Linked DNA regions of Homo sapiens: region 1 is linked to region 2. Evidence: promoter capture Hi-C in 16 types of primary human blood cells and fetal thymus (Javierre and others, 2016). All regions are on one chromosome and are shown on one strand. The core of a region is centred on a gene start or on the middle of the fragment in contact, and the rest is flanking DNA. Distances in the headings are between cores, read along the strand shown. Region 1 holds the start of COPS4 (COP9 signalosome subunit 4). Region 2 has its middle 33 kb from the start of ENOPH1.

The links. Contacts are between HindIII fragments. The CHiCAGO score rates a contact against its expected background, and 5 or more counts as called.
Region 1: the fragment with the promoter of COPS4 here is called in contact with a fragment that was not itself captured in region 2 in 4 of 17 cell types (total B cells, total CD8 T cells, fetal thymus and 1 more); the score reaches 7.9 in total B cells.

The regions. Positions count from the first base shown.
Region 1 is chr4:83,032,253-83,036,721 of GRCh38, forward strand. COPS4 (COP9 signalosome subunit 4) reads left to right here and starts at 2,931. Exons shown (of 10, transcript NM_016129.3): 1 at 2,931-3,046. The coding sequence starts at 2,973. RefSeq lists enhancers at 2,451-2,570, 2,644-2,938, 2,701-3,050, 3,151-3,200, 3,241-3,300 and 2 more. The HindIII fragment of the contact is 6,632 bases long and covers 1-4,469 here.
Region 2 is chr4:82,461,246-82,466,030 of GRCh38, forward strand. No RefSeq gene overlaps it. Among named protein-coding and RNA genes, the nearest start is that of ENOPH1, 33 kb to the left of the region's middle. The HindIII fragment of the contact is 638 bases long and covers 1,486-2,123 here.

The DNA of each region.
Region 1 (4,469 bases), core at 1,681-4,180, 570 kb after region 2:
TTCCCCAGTCATGCCTCCTGTAAGGCTGTGGAACTATGAGTCATTTAAATCTCTTTTCTTTTTTTTTTTGAGACGGAGTCTCGCTCTGTCGCCCAGGCTGGAGTGCGGTGGCACGATGTCGGCTCACTGCAAGCTCCGCCTCCCGGGTTCACGCCATTCTCCTGCCTCAGCCTCCCGAGTAGCTGGGACTACAGGCGCCCGCCACCACGCCTGGCTAATTTTTTTGTATTTTTAGTAGAGACGGGGTTTCATCGTGTTAGCCAGGACGGTCTCGATCTCCTGACCTCGTGATCCACCCGCCTCGGCCTCCCAGAGTGCTGGGATTACAGGCGTGAGCCACCATGCCCGGCCTAAATCTCTTTTCTTTACAAATTGCCCAGTTTCAGGTAGTTCTTTATAGCAGTGTGAGAACAGACTAATATACATTCTTTTTTTATTTATTTTATTTTTGAGATTTCACTCTGCCACCCAGGCTGGAGTGCAGTGGCACGATCTCAGCTCACTGCAGCCTCCGCCTCCTGTGTTCAATCGATTTTCCTGCCTCAGCCTCCTAAGTAGCTGGGACTACAGGCACCCGCCACCACGCCTGGTTAATTTTTTGTGTTTTTAGTAGAGAAAGAGTTTCACCATGTTGAGCAGGCTGGTCTCGAACTCCTGACCTCAGGTGATCCACCTGCCTTGGCCTCCTAAAGTGGTGGTATTACAGGCATGAGCCACCACGCCTGGCTGAGAACAGACTAATACACATTCTTAAAAGGGATTCCTTCTTCAGGTATTCTTCTCTTTCTCTTTCCCAATAGAGGGAATATGCCATTTATCACACATCAAGATGGCAAAAATCCAAAAGTTTGACATCCTTTGTAGTCAAGGCTGTAGGAAGCTGCACCCCTATATATTTCTGGTAGGAAGGCAAAATGATACCATTCCTATAAAATGCAATTTGGCAATATCTACCAAAATTGTATGTCTATCCTTTGCCTCATTTCTGGTAATGTGTTCTACCTGTACATATATAATGTATGCAAAGGTTATTCATCGCATTGATTAAAAATAACATGTCCTATAAGGATTAAATAAACTAAGGCATACTCTCACTGTGTAATATCCTCTAGCTCCAAAAAGAGTGATTTTGAAAGACTGGACAGCTGGTAAGATGTCCAGCTGTCTTAGTCTGTTTTCTGTTGCTTATACCAGAATACCTGAAACTGGGTAATTTATAAAGAAAAGGAATTTATATCTTAGAGTTATGAAGGCCAAGAAGTCTAAGGTCAAGGGGCCACATCTAATGAGACCCTTCTTGCTGGTGGGGACTTGCTAGAGTTCAGAAGCAGCACAGGGTATCACATGGCAAGGGAGTGACCTTCCTAACATGCTAGCTCAGGTCTCTTCCTCTTCTAATAAAGCCACATGTTCTCTCCCATGACAACCCATTAATCCATGAATAGATCAAGGGTTTTGCCCTCATGATCCAATCACCTATTTAAGGCCCACCTCTAAATACTGCCACATTAAAGATGAAGTTTCAACATGAGTTGTTTGTTTTTTTTTTTTTTTTTGAGACGGAATTTCCCTCTTGTTGCCCAGGCTGGAGTGCAGTGGTGCAATCTTGGCTCACCGTAACCTTCGCCTTCCAGCTTCAAGTGATTCTCGTGCCTCAGCCTCCCGAGTAGCTGAGATTACAGGCACGTGCCACCACACCCAGCTAATTTTTGTATTTTTAGTTGAGACGGGGTTTCTCCATGTTGGTCAGGCTGGTCTCGAACTCCCGACCTCAGGTGATCCGTCCACCTCGGCCTCCCAAAGTGCTGGGATTACAGACGTGAGCCACGGCGCCAGCCCTCAACATGAGTTTTGGAGAAGACAATTATTTCAAACCACAGTACCAGGAAAAGTGCAAAAAAAAAAAACCAAGGCAGAACAATTATGTGGTGTTGCTTGTGAGAGGTAAAATTTTATTTTATTAATATTTGCTTGTATTTGCAGAAATTCTATAAGAATACATGAGTATTGAATGTTATACAAACGCAGGCGACCATATAATCTTCCATTGAAATGGAACGGTTTCTAGAATGAAAGGGAGGATGTTATTATTATTATTATTATTTTTTGAGACCGAGTCTCGCTGTGTCTCCCAGGCTGGAGTGCAGTGGCGCGATCTCGGCTCACTGCAAACTCCGCCTCCCGGGTTCACGCCATTCTCCTGCCTCAGCCTCCCGAGTTGCTGGGACTACAGGGGTGCACCACCTACGCCCGGCTAATTTTTTTGTATTTTTAGTAGAGAACGGGGTTTCACCGTGTTAGCCAGGATGGCCTCGATCTCTTGACCTCGTGATCCGCCCGCCTCGGCTGCCCAAAGTGCTGGGATTACAGGCGTGAGCCACCGCGCCCGGCCGAAAGGGGGGATATTAATCATTACTCCAGGACGACAGAGGGAAAATCGCTTTGTACTGGACAAACTGGAATGTCTGACCAACCATTATAAAGTGCACGGAGTGGGAGGAGGAATAGGGACATTTTAATTGTATTTCTAAAAAGTATCTTCTGTGGTGAATCGGAAACAAAACTCATTCTTTACCACAGGCAGTTTAAGCGCTGCCTGAAAGATCGAAGGACGGTAAACCACAGACGTGAGAAACGGAACTTTGCGAAAACGCAGTCGTTTTATGTACCGGCTACTCATTGGAGTTACACCAGAGACTCACTACTGGAGTTCATCAGCCAATCCAAAGTCCAAGCGTGAGAGCCAGAGCCTGTAGGAGAGACCTGGGCAGGCCTCAGACCTGAGGAGTGGAGCTCCGCATCACTCAACCCTGGGGGCGGAGCTAGCCCAGGCTCCCACACCCGACGCTCTGGCCCACACAGACGCTACTCTGTAGCATCTCAGGTTCCCTCTGGCTGCACTCTGGAGGACCACACTCGTTTTCTTTTTGGCTGCCAGAGGCCCCCGCATCCACCGCTGAGCTGGGAGAAAGATGGCGGCAGCCGTGCGACAGGATTTGGCCCAGCTCATGAATTCGAGCGGCTCTCATAAAGATCTGGCTGGCAAGTGAGTATTTCCCAGGAACGCGGGAGTACAGAGGTGGGGAAAGAAAGCCACAGCCTTAATCTCCTTAGGTTGGCCACGGCTCTTGGGCGTGAAGCTAGGAGCCGGCCTGACGTCCAAGGGGGCGGGCCTGAGGTCGGCTGGGGAGGCAAATGTTGGGAGAAGCAGAAAGCTGGAGGGGACCTTGTGCAGGGGCCTTCGAGGCTATAGACTTGAAATGATTGTCAGCTTGTTCAGTTCTTGATAGAATCTTTCTGGTCCCTTAGGATTTTGGAACAGCGGTCTGAGAGACGACTGCTACCCTGGCCTTAGTAGCCTTCCCTGGTACCTCTTCCCATCGCTGGCCGGCCTCACACCGAATCTGGCCTCTCTTTGGACCTTCCTCCTCTTTTTTTTTGATTCAGAGAAATGTATATTCTGGGGCCTTGATGCTGCGTTTTTCGGGGAGATGGCTTCTTGGGGCTGGCTGAGGTTGAGGCGGTATGGCCGCTGTCATGTCGTCCAGACCATTCAGACTGTCTTCTGTGGGTCCTTGTGTTTCGGGTATTTTCTCTGCCACCAACTCTGATGGCACATAGGCGGAATGTGCTCATATCGTGGGTCAGGATGTCTACAGTAGTGATGTTTGCAGGAATCTGAATTTTGTCGAAATTTATATAGAATGCTTAGGTTCACTCCAAGTTAAAATGTGTGACGTGCCTGTTCTGCAAGCAGTTGTCAACAGTATTAAGCATAGGTAGGTAGACGTATATTGTTCATTTTCTCTTTGTAGATGTCACAGCATTTCTCTTTTGTAATGAACATGCTTTCTGTTTAAAGTATGCCTCTCTAGGCCGGGTGCAGTGGCTCACGCCTGTAATCCCAGCACTTTGAGAGGCTGAGATCACTTGAGGCCTGAGAGATCTGAGAGGGAGGATCACTTGAGGGCAGGAGTTCTAGACCAGCCTGGGCAACATAGTGAGACCCCCCCCCCCGCCGCCACCCGTCTCCGTAAATAAATAAGTAAATAAAGTATGCCTCTCAAGTTGATCTTAATGTTTACATCCTGACAGCTGAAATCACTTTGATGTATATTAATGGGATACACCTGTTCTAACCTGGTCATTGAAATTCTGACTGTTTTAAGTAGGCTAGGCTGCCTTTTCTCTGGTGGCAAACGTAATCTACTTTTATCAGTGGGAAATTCAGCCGTATATTTTGGGCTTAACTACTTTGTGCTGCATTTTCCCACTCAGGAAAATGAAGATAATAATAGGACTTATTCTTGTCTGACATTATCTGAGGACAAGATGAGTATGTGTGTGCATATATACTTACCACACTTATATCACGTAGAACAGTACCTGACATATAGAAAGTGCGGTAAGATTGTTGTTGTTACTATTAAGCTGTCAGTAAATATATATTCACTTATTGTATGGGTTGG
Region 2 (4,785 bases), core at 555-3,054:
ACATATAAGGTTACTATTCCATTTGGATAGTAAGCATTCAGGATATGAGTGGAGTTCCTTATATTTTTGAGAATCTTAACTTTGAGGTCTCTAAGGTAATGCTTGAAGGAGGGAGTTACTCTCCTAACTAATCAAGAAAAACTCACGAATCCTGGAGGAGCAATTTTAGAAATGCTTTGAATAAGGAAAAAGAAGTCTTAGAACTATGAGAGGACAGGGGATATAAAAGATTTTATGTTGATAATTTTGATCTAGTAGCCAATTAAGAAATCTAGGGTCTATGAAAATATATGAATAAAAAAGAAAGGAAATGAGTTTAGGTACATCTTAGAAATGGGAATAATTTGTAAATGATGATAAAACCACAAATAGTAATAAAAGGATGAACTTAATACCTTTTTTGGAAAGCTCATAGGCAGATGGCAGAAAGGGGTATATCTTAATGTTATTTAAGGAGTAGTTGGAAAATGAAGAAATGAGAAGATTAGGCACTAGGATCTAGATTAGAAAGGAATTGAATAAAAAGGAAGGCACACAGCATCTAGCCAGCAAAGGATTGAGGTGGAGAGGCATTTTACTACCCATGTACACTGAGTAAGGAGGACAGAAAATCAATAGATTTCAGGAATTAAGAGAAAATTGAAGTATCAGATTTATTTTGCAAAGTAAGGGAAAAACTAGTTGAATGGAATCGTTTTTAGATCCTAGGAAAACCATTCACAAATGATGGAGAAAGGTCGTAGGAAGAATTTGAAAGATAAAGTAGATTGGCAAGAGAGGAAAAATACCTATCTAAGAATGTAAGCAGTGATACACAATGTATACATGTATTGAAACACCACAGTGTACCCCATAAATATGCACAGTTATGCATCATTAAAAAACTTTTTTTAATGTGGATAATGAGCTAGAAGATGAAGTCAGATGAATTCATAGTCCTTATGAGGGGAAGGAAGGCAAAAAACCTCTGGAACTTCCAAAAAGAGGACAAAGGCCTCAGCCTCTTGTTTGCAGAGAATATGGAGGACAAAAGCGTCTTAAAGTTGTGGCTCTTTTTATTCCTGTTTATTAATCCAGATGTACCTCTGTTGTTCTCTTTCCTACAGTGGCGCTGATTTCTAATCTTGGGTCAAAGCCCAGGTTGGTTTTTTAGAAGAGAAGCCCTTAACAGAAGATTCTCTAATCTTATCAACATTTCTGGAGTAGCAGGACTTCTTTTTGGTCTGGAAAGCGGGTTTTAGTTGCTACGCAGAATGTCAAATGTGTAGTTGCACAAGGAAAGGTTGAAAGCCACTGGCTTATTGCCAGGGCAGATGCACGGCAGCCTTTCCCCAGCAGATGGTGCTGTTTCTCCAGACTTGATATGAAGTGTGAGGCTCCACCCCTCCTCCCCCCCTCCCCCAACCCCCGCCCCGTCGCCCGCCAAATACAGCAGATGGAGCTAAGAGAGAGAAAACTATATTTTGTTTATCCTTACAAGCCAAAAGCTTGATGTTGCAAGAGTTGGAGTAGTTTGGAAAAAATGGCAGTAATCCTGAATGAAATCCAACTATCTAATATTCCTTTTCCTCAATAAAAAATTAGTGATTTTTAGCCCCTTTTTCCAGCGGCAGTGTTAAAAAGGGATTGTTTTCAGGGCTTTTTTTATTCCCACGAGTACAAAGTTGAGTATAATATATTCCAAAAGTTTGTTAACCTACCACCTGTGCCCAGATGGCAAAGTGATATTATCCTCAACCTAATATTTAAGAATAACGTGGAGTTTTTACTAAAACACTTGGAGTAACTGACAGAAGTAAAATTTCTACCTTACAAATTCAACCCAAATTTATTCCTTAAATATTTATTAAGCATTTACCTTGCATCCCAGATCTGCTATGAGGGGACAAAGTTCCTCTCTACTCCCATTGTGCATACATTTTTCGAGAAGAGAAACAATGGTGACTAAGACAAGAAAAAATTAGATACTAGTAAGCGCTCTGCAGAGAACACAGGGTAGAATAACTTTACAGGAGGGGTGATGAGAAGGTGACATCTAATCTAAATGACATGGAAGACATGTAGGAAACTAGGAGAACTGGTGTTCCATGCAGATGGAACAGCATAGCACAGATCTAGGGCAAAGCTTGGCCTTTTTCAGGAATTGAGAGCCCAGTGGCTGGATACCATCAGAGAAGTGGGCTGAAGCCAGATGATAGTGCTTTGTACTCCAGTAAGAAGTTTGAATTGTATTCTAAGTATGGTAAAAAGCCCCTGGAGGACTTTGAGCAGAAGATAACCTGAGTGGTTTACATATTTAAGGAATTCTGTATGGAATGGAGAATGGTTTATAAGTGGGCATGACTGCATGCAGGAAGGTGAGTTAAGTATATCAGGGTTGAGTGCTGCAGGCAAAAATCACAAGGAGTTAGGTGTATACAACATCAGTGGAAGAACTGGGAGAAGAGTCAGGGCAACTACCACTGGACTGTGGAGTTAGAGGACACCTCACAGTGGTTAGCTCAGGAAGCCTGCTACCATTGCCACTGTAGCTCATGCCCACGACGCTGGCCAGACTCTGGAATGCCAGGCCCCATTGCTGCAACCTCTCCAAACAGAACACTTCCATCTCTTCTCCAATTAGGGGGTAAAATTGGCACTTGAGAGAGTCAATCTACTGGGTCTGAGAAGGCTGTTGTAGTAATGAAGGTAAGGGATGGTGGTGGCTTGCCTTAGGGTGGTAAAAGCAGAAATAGAAGTGGAAAGATTCAGAATAGGTTTTAGACATGACAGTGACCACTTATTGATTGATTGGATTTGAAAGGGTAACTCTTACATTTTTAGCTTAAGCAACTGGATAGATGATACTACTGGAAAAATAGCAGTGCTGCTGATAATAATGTAAAGCCAATGTAGATCCTGATGTCAACATGACCGAAGAGCAGTTGGATATAAGTCTAGAGTTCAGAATGCTGGCCTGGCTGGAGATCAGATTTGAGAGTTCACTGGCATAGAGATGCTATTAAAAGCCATGGGATGGGGTTGCTTAGGAAGAGTCTGTTGATAGAGAAGAGAGCCTAAACAGCCCGTAGGCTCCAACACTAGAGGTCAAGCCAAGCAAAGAAACCAGCAAAGGAGATGGGAAAGTATTGGGCACTGAGGAAGGAAAACCAGGAGAGTGGCAGGGGAGCCCATTAAAGAAGGAACTATTCAAATTTATCAATTGCTGCTAAGAATTCAGTTGAGAATAGCAGTGGCCCTGCAGTCTAAGTGGAGTGGTGGGAACAGAAGTAAGATTAAGTTGAGGAGGTCAGGAGGGCCTATGAGGTCTAGCTAAAGATTTATCCATTTTGTTGATCTTTTTAAAGAAGAACATTTGGTTTTGTTGATTCTCTATTTTGTTTATTTCCACTCTAATCGTATTTCCTTCTGCTTGCTTTGGGTTTAATTTGCATTTCTTTTTCTAGTTCCTTAATGTGGAAACTTATGTAATTGCTTTGTGAGTTTTTTTTTTCTTTTTTTTTTTGAGATGGAGTCTCGCTCTGTTGCCCAGGCTGGAGTGCAGTAGTGCAATCTCAGCTCACTGCAACCTCCGCCTCCTGGGTTCAAGCGATTCTCCTGCCTCAGCCTCCCAAGTAGCTGGAACTACAGGCACCTGTCACCACGCCTGGCTAGTTTTTGTATTTTTAGTAGAGACAGGGTTTTGCCATATTGGCCAGGCTGGTCTTGAACTCCTCACCTCAGGTGATCAGCTCGCCTCGGCCTCCCAAAGTGCTGGGATTCCAGGCGTGAGCGACTGTGTCCGGCCATTTTCTTTTTTTTTTTTTTTAATGTAGGCATTTACAGCTCTGAGTTTCCCTCCGAGCATTATTTTCACTGTATCCCATAGGTTGAGGTATGTTGTGTTTTTGTTTTCATGTGTCTCAATATATTTTCTAATTTCCTTTGTGATTTCTTCCTTCACCCATTGGTTGTTTAAGTGTTTAATTTCCACATATTGTGAATTTTCCAAATGTCCTTCTGTTACTGATTTCTAATATCATTCCCCTATACTTAGAGAACATACTTTGTATGATTTTGATCTTTTAAAATTTAACAAGACTTTTCATGGCCTAACTTATAGTCTATCCTGGAGAATATTCTTTGTGCACTGGAGAAGAATTTAAATTCTGCTGTTATTGGGTGGAGTGTTCTGCGTGTATGTCTATTAGGTCTAGTTGGTTTGTAGTGTTGTTTGAATCTTCTGTTTCCTTGTTTACATTCTGTCCAGTTGCTCTATTATTGAATGTGAAGTATTGAATGCTCCCTCTCTTTTGTTAAATTGTCTATTCTTTTCTTCAATTCTCTTTAGCTTCATCTATTTTGCTGCCCTGTTGTAAGGTGTGTATATGTTTATAATTGTTATAGCTTCTTGCTAGCTTCTTTAACATTATAATGTCCTTCTTTGTCTCTTGTAACAGTTTTTGTCTTAAAGTCTATTTTGTCTGGTATTACTGTAGCCACTTCACCCTCTATTTACATGGAATATCTTTTTTTTTTTTTTTTGAGTCAGGGTGTCACTCCGGGGCCCCAGGCTGGAGTGCAGTGGCAAGATCATAGCTTACTGCCTCAATCTCCCAGGCTCAAGCGATCCTCCCACCTTAGCCTCCTGAGTAGCTGGGACCACAGGTGTGCGACCTCACACCTAGCTAATTTTTGTATTTTTGTAGAGATGAGGTCTCACTCTATTGCCCAGGCTGGTCTCAAACTCCTGGGCTCAAGCTATCTGCCTGCCTTGGTCTCCCAAAGTGTTAGGATTACAGCCCG